Regions from separate parts of the Homo sapiens genome. Here all the other regions are linked to region 2. Evidence: promoter capture Hi-C in human tissues and cell types (Jung and others, 2019). All regions are on one chromosome and are shown on one strand. Each heading gives the region's core, a stretch centred on a gene start or on the middle of the fragment in contact. The rest is flanking DNA. Distances are from core to core; before and after follow the strand shown. Region 1 holds the start of ZSCAN5B (zinc finger and SCAN domain containing 5B). Region 2 overlaps ZSCAN5A (zinc finger and SCAN domain containing 5A). Region 3 holds the start of GALP (galanin like peptide).

Region 1 (3,713 bases), core at 1,115-3,614, 68 kb after region 2:
AAAAAAAAAAAACGATATCAAAAGAAAGCCAGATGTGGCTCGTGCCTGTAGTCTTAGCTGCTAGGGAGGCTGAAGCAGGATTGCTTGAGCCCAATAATTGAGAATTAAACAAATAAGAAGAAGGAAAGAACGTGGTATCTATGTGAGTTGAGGGAGATGTTAACTAGCTTGGTCCTGGCGATTGCATCACAATATATACCTGTTTCCAAACTTCAGCCTGGTGACCTTCGTTAATAATAATGTGTTGGGAAAGTCTCAACCAGAGCAACGAACAAAGGGCATCCAAATTCAGAAGGAGGAAGTCGAATTGTCTCTCTTTGCCAACAACATGATGTCATCTATAAGAATCCCTGAAACCTCCACCAGTAAAACTCTTAGAATTGATAAACCAATTCAGTAAGGTGGCCAGATACTAAGTCGATATGCAAAAATCAGTAGTGTTTTTATACACCAACAACGAACTAGTGGCAAGAAAAAAATCAAGAAAGCAATCTCATTTACAAGAGCAAAAGACACCCCAAAACCCTGGAAGTAAATTTAACTAAGGAGGTGAAAGATTTCCACAAGGAAAACTGTTAAACACTAATGAAAAATATTAAAGCGGACCCCAGAAAATGGGAAGACATGTTCGTAGGGGGAAGAATCAACATTGTGAAAAAGACCATACTATTAATAGACATCTACAGATTCAATGCGATCCCTACCAAAATACCAACAACATACTTCACAGAAATAGACTGTGAGTTTCCAGAGGGGAGGATTCGGGGGAAGCAGATAGGAAGATGGTGGTTTAGGCAGCTCCCAGTTAATTCCAGTGAATAATTCCTTTTTTTTTTTTTTGAGACGCTGTCTCGGTCTGTCGCCCAGGCTGGAGTGCAGTGGTGTGATCTCCGCTCACTGCAAGTTTCGCCTCCCGGGTTCATGCCATTCTCCTGTCTCAGCCTCCCGAGTAGCTGGGACTACAGGCACCTGCCACCACGCCTGGCTACTTTTTTGTATTTTTCGTAGAGACGGGGTTTCACCGTGTTAGCCAGGGTGGTCTCGATCTCCTGACCTCGTGATCCGCCCGCCTCGGCCTCCCAAAGTGCTGGGATTACAGGCGTGAGCCTCCGCGCCCGGCCATTAATTCCATTCTTAACTCCAACCCATTGTCAACACCTCAGTGGTTAAGAAGGGAAAATATCACAAAGTATGAGAAAATGCACCAGAAAATAATTGTCACAACTGTTTGGCAAAATGACCTTGTATCGAGCACTTTATTGACCCAGTCTTATTGCATCTTCAAAACAACACATCAGGAAGGTTCTAGTCACAAGAAGTTTGAAGTTCCCAGAGTGAAGCGGCTTAAGATTTTCCAAGGATTTAAACCAGAATCAGTGTAAAATTAACAGCCCTCCAATTTGTCCTAAAGGTTAGACGAGAAGGTTTCCTCTGAAATTAAAATGAATGAGTCACTACTTGAATGGATTAGTGTCATCCAACTGATGGTGTGAACTTCCCAAATTGTAATCTAATCCTGCCTAGCACTTAATTATCATTCCACATTAACTCCATGATCCACACAGTAAAATTCACACCCACCGTTAAGGCTTTTCTTGCTTGAGAGCCCTAACTGAGGGGGCTGAGAACTAGGGAACCCCGTAGGACCCTCAGTGTATCTATAAACCACCCTATCACCGTCCTGGAATGAATGCAGAGTGGGGACCATGTGCCTTTCTCTGGTTCCCACTGCTTTTATATAAGGCTGATATCAAATCAGTGATTTAGTTTAGTTTGAACAAAGCTTTCACATGCCAATTCCAAGATTTTGAAAAAAATAAAAAAGTAAAAAATTATCACAAACATTCATTACATATCAACGAGTGTCCACAATTTTCAACATCTTGGAATTCGCGTGTGAAAGCTTCGCTCAAATGAGATTAAAAATGAGATTAAATCACTGGTTTGATATTAATCAACCAACTCTATTTTGAATTTTTCTTTTTTTTTTCTTTTTCCGTTTTGTTTTAATAAGCGAAGTCAACCAGCTCTTAACACGTCCTTTACTTGTTAGGATATTACTGTCTGTGGCATGAGGGGACCCAAAGTGGTTAAAACTTGCAGATCTATATTTTCTGAGGCCTCCACATACTTCAGCAATATGACAACTCAGTAGAGCGGGAAAACCTGTATTATTTGCACAGTAGGCACGTTTAATACATTAATTTCCTGTGGGTGGGGTTTCAGTGGGAAATGTAATCAACGCCGATTACGAAAATGGACTCTGTGGCCCTAAACCAATCACGGCGCGGCGCAGGGAACCGGAAACGCGGCCTGGAGTCCCGCTTCTCCATAAATAGACGCAGTTCAGCTCCAGGCCGGTTGGAGAGCGCATCCCAGACCGAGAAGGTCGGAGGCAGAAGCCGGGAAGGAGGTGAGTGTCCAGCGGCGATGGCTGTGGGGTTTCGGAGCTGGCATGCGGGGGGTTGGTTTCAGAAAGTTTGGGTTTATTTTCTCATGCATTTATTTTCTCGGAGACTTTGTGAAGGCAGCGGGTCTCCTTTGCACCCCATGATTAACTCTGACTGGCGATGAAGTGCTTCTGTAAACTAGGAATAATATTAACTTTCTCGGTCGGGCCCAGTGGCGCACGCCTGTAATCCCAGCTACTCTGGAGGCCGAGGTGGGCAGATCACGGGATCAGGAGTTCAAGACCAGTCTGACCAACATGGTGAAACCCCGACTCTAACAAAAATACAAAAATTAGCCGGGCGTGGTGGCGGGCGCCCGTAATACCCGCTATTCAGGAGACTGAGTCAGGAGAGTCGTTTGAACCCAGGAGGCAGAGGTTAGGGTAATACCCGCTATTCGGGAGACTGAGTCAGGAGAGTCATTTGAACCCAGGAGGCAGAGGTTGCAGTGAGCCGAGGTCGCGCCATTGCACTCCAGCCTGGGTAACAAAGCAAAACTCCGTCTCAAAAAAAAAAAAAGGAGAAAAATAAAGTAATAATGTTAACTTTCTCATCATGGTTAGGTTTTGTTTCATTTTATTTTTCAGAGACGGGGTCTCGCTCATTTCCCAGGCTGGCCTGGAACTCCCAGGCTCAAGCTATGTGCCCTCCTCGGCCTCCACCTAGCTGGGGCTGCAGGAGCACACCACCACACCGCCCGAGTGCATTTTTTTATTTACTATAGAGACGTGGTCTCGCTGCTTTGCCCAGTCTGGTCTCGAACTCCTCGGCTCAAGCAATCTGCCCGCCTCAGCCTCGATCTCCGCTTTCTGAGCAGGGGCGCTTAGGGAACCTGGCGGGAAAACCTCTTTAATTCCCAGAATTTCAGGCTGCCTTTTCTCATATCTGTATGCTTTTAAAAAATGTATCGATTTACTTAATAAATAAACAAAACGAGATGGCCGCTGGATGTGTCTCCCAGGCTGGAGCACAGTGGCACAATCGCGGTTCACTGCTGGGCTGAAGTGATCCTGCCACCTCCGCCTCCCAGAGCACTGGGGTGACAGGAGTGAGCCATCGCACCAGGCCTAATTTACTTTCAAATTGAGAAATATAAATATATAATGGTGTATATGTCCGGTGCACAGCATAGTGTGTCAAGGTGTGTACGCATTGTGCAACGGCTAAATCGAGCAAACTGCCATAGGCTCTACCTCACTGTCTTATCATTTTTGGACAACACTTGAAATCGACTCCCTTAGCAATTTCCAAGTATACGGTACA
Region 2 (3,804 bases), core at 1,285-3,784:
CAGCGCCCACACAAGGGGTCTCGGCTGCAGCTGGCATGACTGGCTCAGCCACACCAATGCTTCTGTGTCCTGGGCAGCCTGGCTTCCCAACCCCCAAGGAGTCCCAAGCCACTGACTAGGTCCTAGAATAGACAACCCATGTCCTGGGCTCTGGCTGGCTCTCCAGTCAGTTCCTTCACATCTATCCTAGATAGAGGAGCCCTTGGAGTCTTCTGTCCCCCACTAAACAGATAAGGGAGCAATGGGTCAGAAGTTTCAGGGATTTTTCCCAGAAGGGACCTGAAAAGTGTCATCGGATTTAGCCAGGCTCTGAAATCATAGAGGTGCGGGATCAAACCTCAGCTCCCTCCACCTCCTGGCTGTGTGCACTAGGACAAGGATTTCTTTTCTTTGGACCTCAGTTTCTCAGGGAGTAAAAATGGAGGTGTCATAGCAACAGTCGATACTTTTTCTAGCACTGACTACATCCCAGATGCTCTTCTAAGAGCCTTTGCCTATAATAACTCCTACAACACTATGAGATGGGAACTGTTATTAGCGTCATTTTATAGATGAAAAAAGTGAGATCTAAAAGCATAAGGTCCACTCAGAATCACACCACTAGTAATTGGCAGGACTGGGATTCGAAGCTAAGTATATGAATCTGCAGTGAATGCTCTAAACCAGCCCTGTCCAGTAGAACTTTCTGCAGTGATAGGAATGTCCTGTATCCGTGCTACCCAGAATGGTGGCCACTAGCCACGTGCGGCTGCTGAGCACTTGAGGTGACGCTAATGCAACTAAGGAAATGAAGTTTTCATTTTATTTCATTATGAAGCATGTAAATCTAAATAGCTACGTGGTAAATCTAAATAGCTACATATATTGGACAGTGCTGCTCTAAATCATGATACTAAGCGCCTCTCAGCCTTAATAGACTATATACCTAACAGGGTTGCTATGACAGTTCTGACAGAGCCATATGTGTAAAAGCACCCTCTGTGAACCAAGCAGTCTCGGTGTTGGGGATGCACTTTCTCTAACCCTGTGGAGTTTATAGTCTGGTGTAGGAAGACAAACAACAATATTGACAAACACATATATAATTTCATGTACTGGTCATTGCTGCAAAGAAACTGAAATAGGGCCATGTGTTAGAGACCGATGGGGTTGAGATGCTGCCGTAGCTAGAGTTGTCAGGAGAGACCTCACTGAGATGGTCACATTTGAGTTTAGATCCTAATGAAGATCTGGGGTAAGAGTAGCTTAGACAGAGGGAACAGCTTGTGCAAAGACCCCGAGGCAGAAAAAAGCAGAAGGAATTTGACACGCAGAAAGAAGATCATTGTGGATGGAGCAGGGTAAGCTCATGGGAATGTGGAGGGAGGAGAGGTTAGAGTGGTAGGCAGGGGCCAGATTGTCAACAAACCTGAGTGGGCTCCGCCGTGAGAATGATAGTAAGCACAAACCAGGAACATTCCTCTTTGTCTGCTTTCCCTGGGCCCTCTTACACCCACTTGGTTCTCTATTAAATATGGGCATCTCCGGCCAGGCACCGTGGCTCACGCCTGTAATCCCAGCACTTTGGGAGGCCAAGGCAGGTGGATCACGAGGTCAGGAGATCGAGACCATCCTGGGTAACATGGTGAAACCCCGTCTCTACTAAAATTACAAAAAATTAGCCGGGCATGGTGGCAGGTGCCTGTAGTCCTAGCTACTCGGGAGGCTGAGGCAGAAGAATTGCTTGAACCAGGCACCGAGATCGCGCCACTGCTCTCCAGCCTCAGTGACAGAGTGAGACTCCATCTCAAAAAAAAAAAAAAAAAAAAAAGTGGGGGCATCTCCCAAGCAGAAAGCAAAGCCTAAGCCTACTCACTTCTTTGGGGAGAGAGGAAGAAAGTCTTGGACAGTAATTGAGCATCCTCTTTGGGCACCTGCCCCAACAACTTCACACACATTATCATCTCATTTAACTGAGGTTGGATCTGCAAAGGCAGCTTGGCTTGGCAGAAAGAGCGGGAGCTTTGGAATGAGGGCCTAGATCTCACCGTGGGCTCTATCACTTGGTGCTATTTTTAGCAAGCATGCAGTAATAATCATAATACTCTCAGCAGTTAAGCTTAATTGGGTGATTATGATGTGCCAGACGTGGTTCTAAGCACTTCATATCTATTAGCTCATAATTTTAAGAGCTGGGTAGTATTATAATTTCTCTTTGCAAATGAGATAACTTTGCCCAAAGTCAACAAAGCCAATAATTGGAAGAGGTAGGATTTGAATCTATACAGGTATGATTGACATTTGTGAACTTGTTTAGCTGCTAAGTCTCTATACCCTGATTTCCTTTGGAAGAATTACCTCTGCTCCACTGTATGTGGTCCTGGTGGGATAGTTAATGCACGTGCCCATTTTCTCATAATGAAAAGCAAGCAGGGTCCCTCAAAGCTCCTTGCACCAGATCCTTATTTTTACACTAAAGCCAACCAACCTTTGTCCTAAGCCAGGCTAATCAGACTGCTTACCTGGCACTTTAAATCTCGAATTGAGTAAAGCAAGAGTGGAAGAAGCAGATTTAATGCTTTTCAGGTGAGAGTGTTGAGTGGCTCATGATACAGAAATCTCTTGGTTTCCCAGGCTTCACTCTTTCCCAAACCCACTCTCCAGCCTTCACTTTAATCCTTTGAACTCCACCCCTTTGCCAGTTCCTTCCAGTGATTTCTCTTTTAAGCTAGCCAAAGTCCGTTTCTGCCACTGGAACCCAAAAAACCTGCTTGATTCAAGAAGTTCAGCTCTGTTTGTGTTCTAAGGCAACCTCTGGCTGCTGTCCTTCTGTACATAGTCTTCCTTCCATTGGATCTCTCAAAGAGAAAGCTCACTTCCTCAGTTTACTTTCCACCAGCTTTAAGTTTCAAGCCTTACTGCTTGCTTACAGCTTTAACCACTTACATAGAGTATAGGTGCATACTAGATGCTCAATTAATATTTGTTGAAATGGTATTCAAGGTGAAAGATTGAGAAGTGAAGATGGTTTGGAATTGTGTTGTTGATGCCTTTATCATGGGAGTGCCCTGTGCTAGGATGGATCTGAGAATGGTTTTTTTGTAATTCTGAAATAAGCCCATGTGTCTCCCCTACTCCAAATCCTTCCATGGCTCAACATTACATACAGGATAAGCATTTATTTAATTTATTTATTTATTTTTGAGATGGAGTCTCACTCTGTCACCCGGGCTGGAGTGCAGTGGTGTGATCTCAGCTCACTGCAACCTCCGCCTCCCAGGTTCAAGCAGTTCTCCTGCCTCAGCCTCCCGAGTAGCTGGGATTACAGGCGCCTGCCACCACACCTGGCTAATTTTTGTATTTGTAGTAGATACGGGGTTTCACCATGTCTGCCAGGCTGGCCTTGAACTCTTGACCTCAAGTGATCCACCTGCCTCGGCCTCCCAAAGTGCTGGGATTACAGGCATGAGCCACCGCGCCCAGCCCTAGGATAGCATTTATGACTAAAAGCTTTAGTGTGACCTAGATCAAGAGTAGGAAAACTTTTTCTGTCAAGAGCAAGATAGTAACTATTTTTGTCTTTGTTAGCCATATGGTCCCTGTCGCAATTACTCAACTTTGCCACTGTAGTGAGAAAGCCACCAGAGACAATACATAAGCAAGGGGAGCTAGCTATGTTCCAATAGAACTTTATTTATAAAAACAAATGGTCAACTATAGTTTGCCAGCCTCTGATACAGACTCTTCATACTTCATAGTCCAGTCTCCCAACACTTCCTCATCTTACCTTGATTTCTACTAAATGAAACTTTGACTTCAGGATTC
Region 3 (3,656 bases), core at 106-2,605, 90 kb after region 2:
ATTTTTGTGTTTTTAGTAGAGACACGCAATATTTCTTCTCATATTTTCAGGATTTGAGCTTCTTCCCCAGGACCCTTGACACAAGCCAGAAGCATTTTTAAAAACTCTTCCCAGAGGGCAGGGATTTGGGGACACTGTTGTTTCCGAGGAACTTAGGGAGGCGTTACCCGGTGGGCAGGTGCGGATGCTGGAGTCTCTGCCAGGCTCAGCAAGAGGACGAGGAGGAGGACCAGGGGGACGGAGGGAGGAGCCATCGAAGGCAGGACGACAGGTGCCTACAGCTGCGGAACACGCTGCAAGGAGAGAGCGGCCAGTCATTTTCCGAAGCGGGGGCCAGGTGCATTTCCGATAAGGACAGAGGAATTTATTTTTTAGCTTTATGGAGGCATCATCGAGATACAAAAATGGCGCACATTTAATGTACACATCTTGAGGAGTTTGGACGTGTGCAAGCAATTAAGCCTCTCCTTCCCCCATCATCGGATCAGGCCGACCTGGTCCCCCAGCGCCCATGCCTTCTGCCCCACTGCCTCCACCACTCCATCTTCAAACCTTTCCGTCCCCTTACCTGCCCCTCACCTTTTCCCTGCCACCAATGCTGGGGTTTCTCCTGTTATCCCCATCCCTTCAAGCCCCCCATCACTCTCCCAGGAGCCCCTCACTCCCTCCACCCCTCTGCCCTCCTGGCCTAGGCTCTCACCCCAGTGCAGCTTGGATCCACCCCTCTGCCCTCCTGGCCTAGGCTCTCACCCCGGTGCAGCTGGCATCCACCCCTCTGCCCTCCTGGCCTAGGCTCTCACCCCGCTGCAGCTGGCATCCGCCCCTCTGCCCTCCTGGCCTAGGCTCTCACCCCCGTGCAGCTGGGATCCGCCCCTCTGCCCTCCTGGCCTAGGCTCTCACCCCGCTGCAGCTGGCATCCGCCCCTCTGCCCTCCTGGCCTAGGCTCTCACCCCGGTGCAGCTGGGATCCGCCCCTCTGCCCTCCTGGCCTAGGCTCTCACCCCGGTGCAGCTGGGATCCGCCCCTCTGCCCTCCTGGCCTAGGCTCTCACCCCGGTGCAGCTGGGATCCGCCCCTCTGCCCTCCTGGCCTAGGCTCTCACCCCGCTGCAGCTGGCATCCGCCCCTGTGCCCTCCTGGCCTAGGCTCTCACCCCGCTGCAGCTGGCATCCGCCCCTCTGCCCTCCTGGCCTAGGCTCTCACCCCGCTGCAGCTGGCAGCCGACCCTGTGCCCTCCTGGCCTAGGCTCTCACCCCGGTGCAGCTGGGATCCGCCCCTCTGCCCTCCTGGCCTAGGCTCTCACCCCGCTGCAGCTGGCAGCTCTCCGCAGCTCTCTCTGGCTCCTCGCTCCAGCGCCTGGACTCTTTCACGCCCCCTGAGCTTTTATGCCTTCTGAGGAGACAATAGAAGGGAGGGGGGAAAGGGAGGGGATTAGAAGAAGGGAGAGGGAGTGAAGAGGATGGAGGTGGGGGAACAGTCATCCACTCCAGGGGCTTTCAAACGCTGGTCTGTGAGGTCAAAACACACACTTCATCGCGGGAAATGCTGCTGTGCCTTGGTTTCCCCTGGTAGACCCTGCCCTTCCCCCTCCTTCTGTGCCCCTTTATCTTCCAGCTGTCCTGTTCCAGACTTTGCAGCTATTCGAGGGCTCCCTCCCTCCCTCTTATCTGCGTCTGGGCCTTGACCTGTGTCTTCCTTGGTTGTCTCCACCTGCCACTGGTGTCTCCGTAGCCCTGTCCCCTCTGCCCCCATCAATCCCTCCAAGCCTCCGCAGCTCCCTCACTGAGTTGCATTTCTTCTGTCTTGCACGGTAGACCCTGTTTATTTGTTTACTTGTGAGCTGTCTATCTCCCCGCCCCCCACCTACCACCCTGGCTAAAGGAGACCCCATGAGGGGTGTCAACTGTGTCTTGTTCATGGCTGCGTCCCTAGGCCGGAAGCTCTCAACCAGGAGTGACTCTGCCCCGATGCTGCCCCAGCCTCACCCCAGGACATGTGACCAAGTCTGGAGACAGTTTTGTTTGTTCGTTTTTTTTGTTTTTGTTTTGAGACGGAGTCTCGCACTGTCGCCCAGGCTGGAGTGCAGTGCTGTGATCTCGGCTCACTACAAGCTGTGCCTCCCGGGTTCACGCCATTCTCCTGCCTCAGCCTCCCGAGTAGCTGGGACGACAGGCGCCCGCCACCACGCCCGGCTAATTTTTTGTATTTTTAGTAGAGACAGACGGAGTTTTACTATGTTGGCCAGGCTAGTCTTGAACTCCTGACCTCGTGATCTTCCCGCCTCAGCCTCTCAAAGTGCTGGGATTACAGGCGTGAGCCACCGCGCCCGGCTGGAGACATCTTTACTTGGGACTTGGGAGGGACTCCCGGCATCTCGTGGGTGGAAGCCAGGGACGCGGCTCAGCCTCCCACAGTGCTCAGGAAAGGCCTCCCCGATGGGAAGGACCCAGCCCCGAAAGTCAATAGCTCCAAAGATGAGAAACCTCACAGCAGCCCCTAAAACAGTGCCCGGAGCTCACTCAATACTTGTTGGGTGAACGAATAAGGAGTGTGTCGTTGCTGCGTCTCTCTCCTGTCATGTGTGTTGATCTATCTGTCTCTGCAGCACGCTCTCTCTTTGCCCTGACGTCACCTGCTTTCCAGAGGAAAGAACCTTGGAAGAGGTTTTACTCTTGCTGTTGCCCTTTGCTGTCTAAGGGACAGAGGGGACGCCCTGGTCCTGGCTGGGTTCTGTCTCCTCCTCTCCACCGTGGAGGACACATTGCCTCCAAGGTCCTTCCAGCATTCTGTCGGTTTGTGGCTGGCACTTGTATCTCTGTCCTGTCTTTACACATCCCCATCAGCCCTTACCCCATCCTTTCTCATCCCAAGGGGAAAGGGAGACCCCAGGAGAGGGATGGAGTGAGAAGACGACGTGGGGGATTACAGACACCCTGGTGGGCTCCTGAGCCCCCTCCGCTGTTTCTCCAAGTCCCTCACTTCTCATCCAGAGGATGACAACAACGAGGAGGAGGAGGAGGAGGAGGAGGAGGAGTGGGCAGGGGAGGAGGAGGAGGGGGAAGCTTTTATAGAAGACAAACTGACAAGAAGGTGTGAATGGCTTTGCTGGGAAGGAGAAAGGAGGAGGGAGTGACGCCCACTGCACGGGAGACAGGACTGAGGAGGCGACGCTGAGAGCTTGAAGCTGGGTTACCTGGAGCCCAATGGAGGGTCAGAGAAACAGTGGGAAGTCCTTGCCTCACTGCCCATTAGCTAGTTTGTGAAAAGTAAACGGGGTAGGTCCAAAGCTTGCTCTATCTCTCTTACACACACACACACACACACACACACACACACACACGCAAAACTCAAATGTGGTGCAAGAAATGTCACAATGTCACTTTCTTCTCATTTCTTTCTTTTTTTTTTTTTTATTGAGATGGAGTCTCACTCCGTCACCCAGGCTGGAGTGCAGTGGCACAATCTCTTGTCACTGTAGCCTCCACCTCCTGGGTTCAAGCAATACTCCTGCCTCAGCCTCCCCAGTAGCTAGGACTACAGGTGTGTGCCACCAAGCCTGGCTAATTTTGTATTTTTAGTAGAGATGGGGTTTCACCATGTTGTTCAGACTGGTCTCGAATTCCTGACCTCAGGTGATTTGCCCTCCTCGGCCTCCCAAA

What was found. Contacts are between HindIII fragments. The study calls those that stand out against the background at their distance.
Region 1: the fragment with the promoter of ZSCAN5B here is called in contact with a fragment that was not itself captured in region 2 in 2 of the 25 tissues and cell types used here (H1 embryonic stem cells and liver).
Region 3: the fragment with the promoter of GALP here is called in contact with a fragment that was not itself captured in region 2 in 2 of the 25 tissues and cell types used here (H1 embryonic stem cells and heart left ventricle).

The regions. Positions count from the first base shown.
Region 1 is chr19:56,196,434-56,200,146 of GRCh38, reverse strand. ZSCAN5B (zinc finger and SCAN domain containing 5B) reads left to right here and starts at 2,364. Exons shown (of 5, transcript NM_001080456.5): 1 at 2,364-2,413. The HindIII fragment of the contact is 13,117 bases long and covers 25-3,713 here.
Region 2 is chr19:56,264,500-56,268,303 of GRCh38, reverse strand. The region is part of intron 2 of ZSCAN5A (zinc finger and SCAN domain containing 5A); the gene reads left to right. Among named protein-coding and RNA genes, the nearest start is that of EDDM13, 6.3 kb to the left of the region's middle. The HindIII fragment of the contact is 5,945 bases long and covers 1-3,804 here.
Region 3 is chr19:56,173,707-56,177,362 of GRCh38, reverse strand. GALP (galanin like peptide) reads right to left here and starts at 1,355. Exons shown (of 6, transcript NM_033106.4): 1 at 1,301-1,355; 2 at 168-293. The coding sequence starts at 254. RefSeq lists enhancers at 1,119-1,669, 1,670-2,220. The HindIII fragment of the contact is 7,717 bases long and covers 1-3,656 here.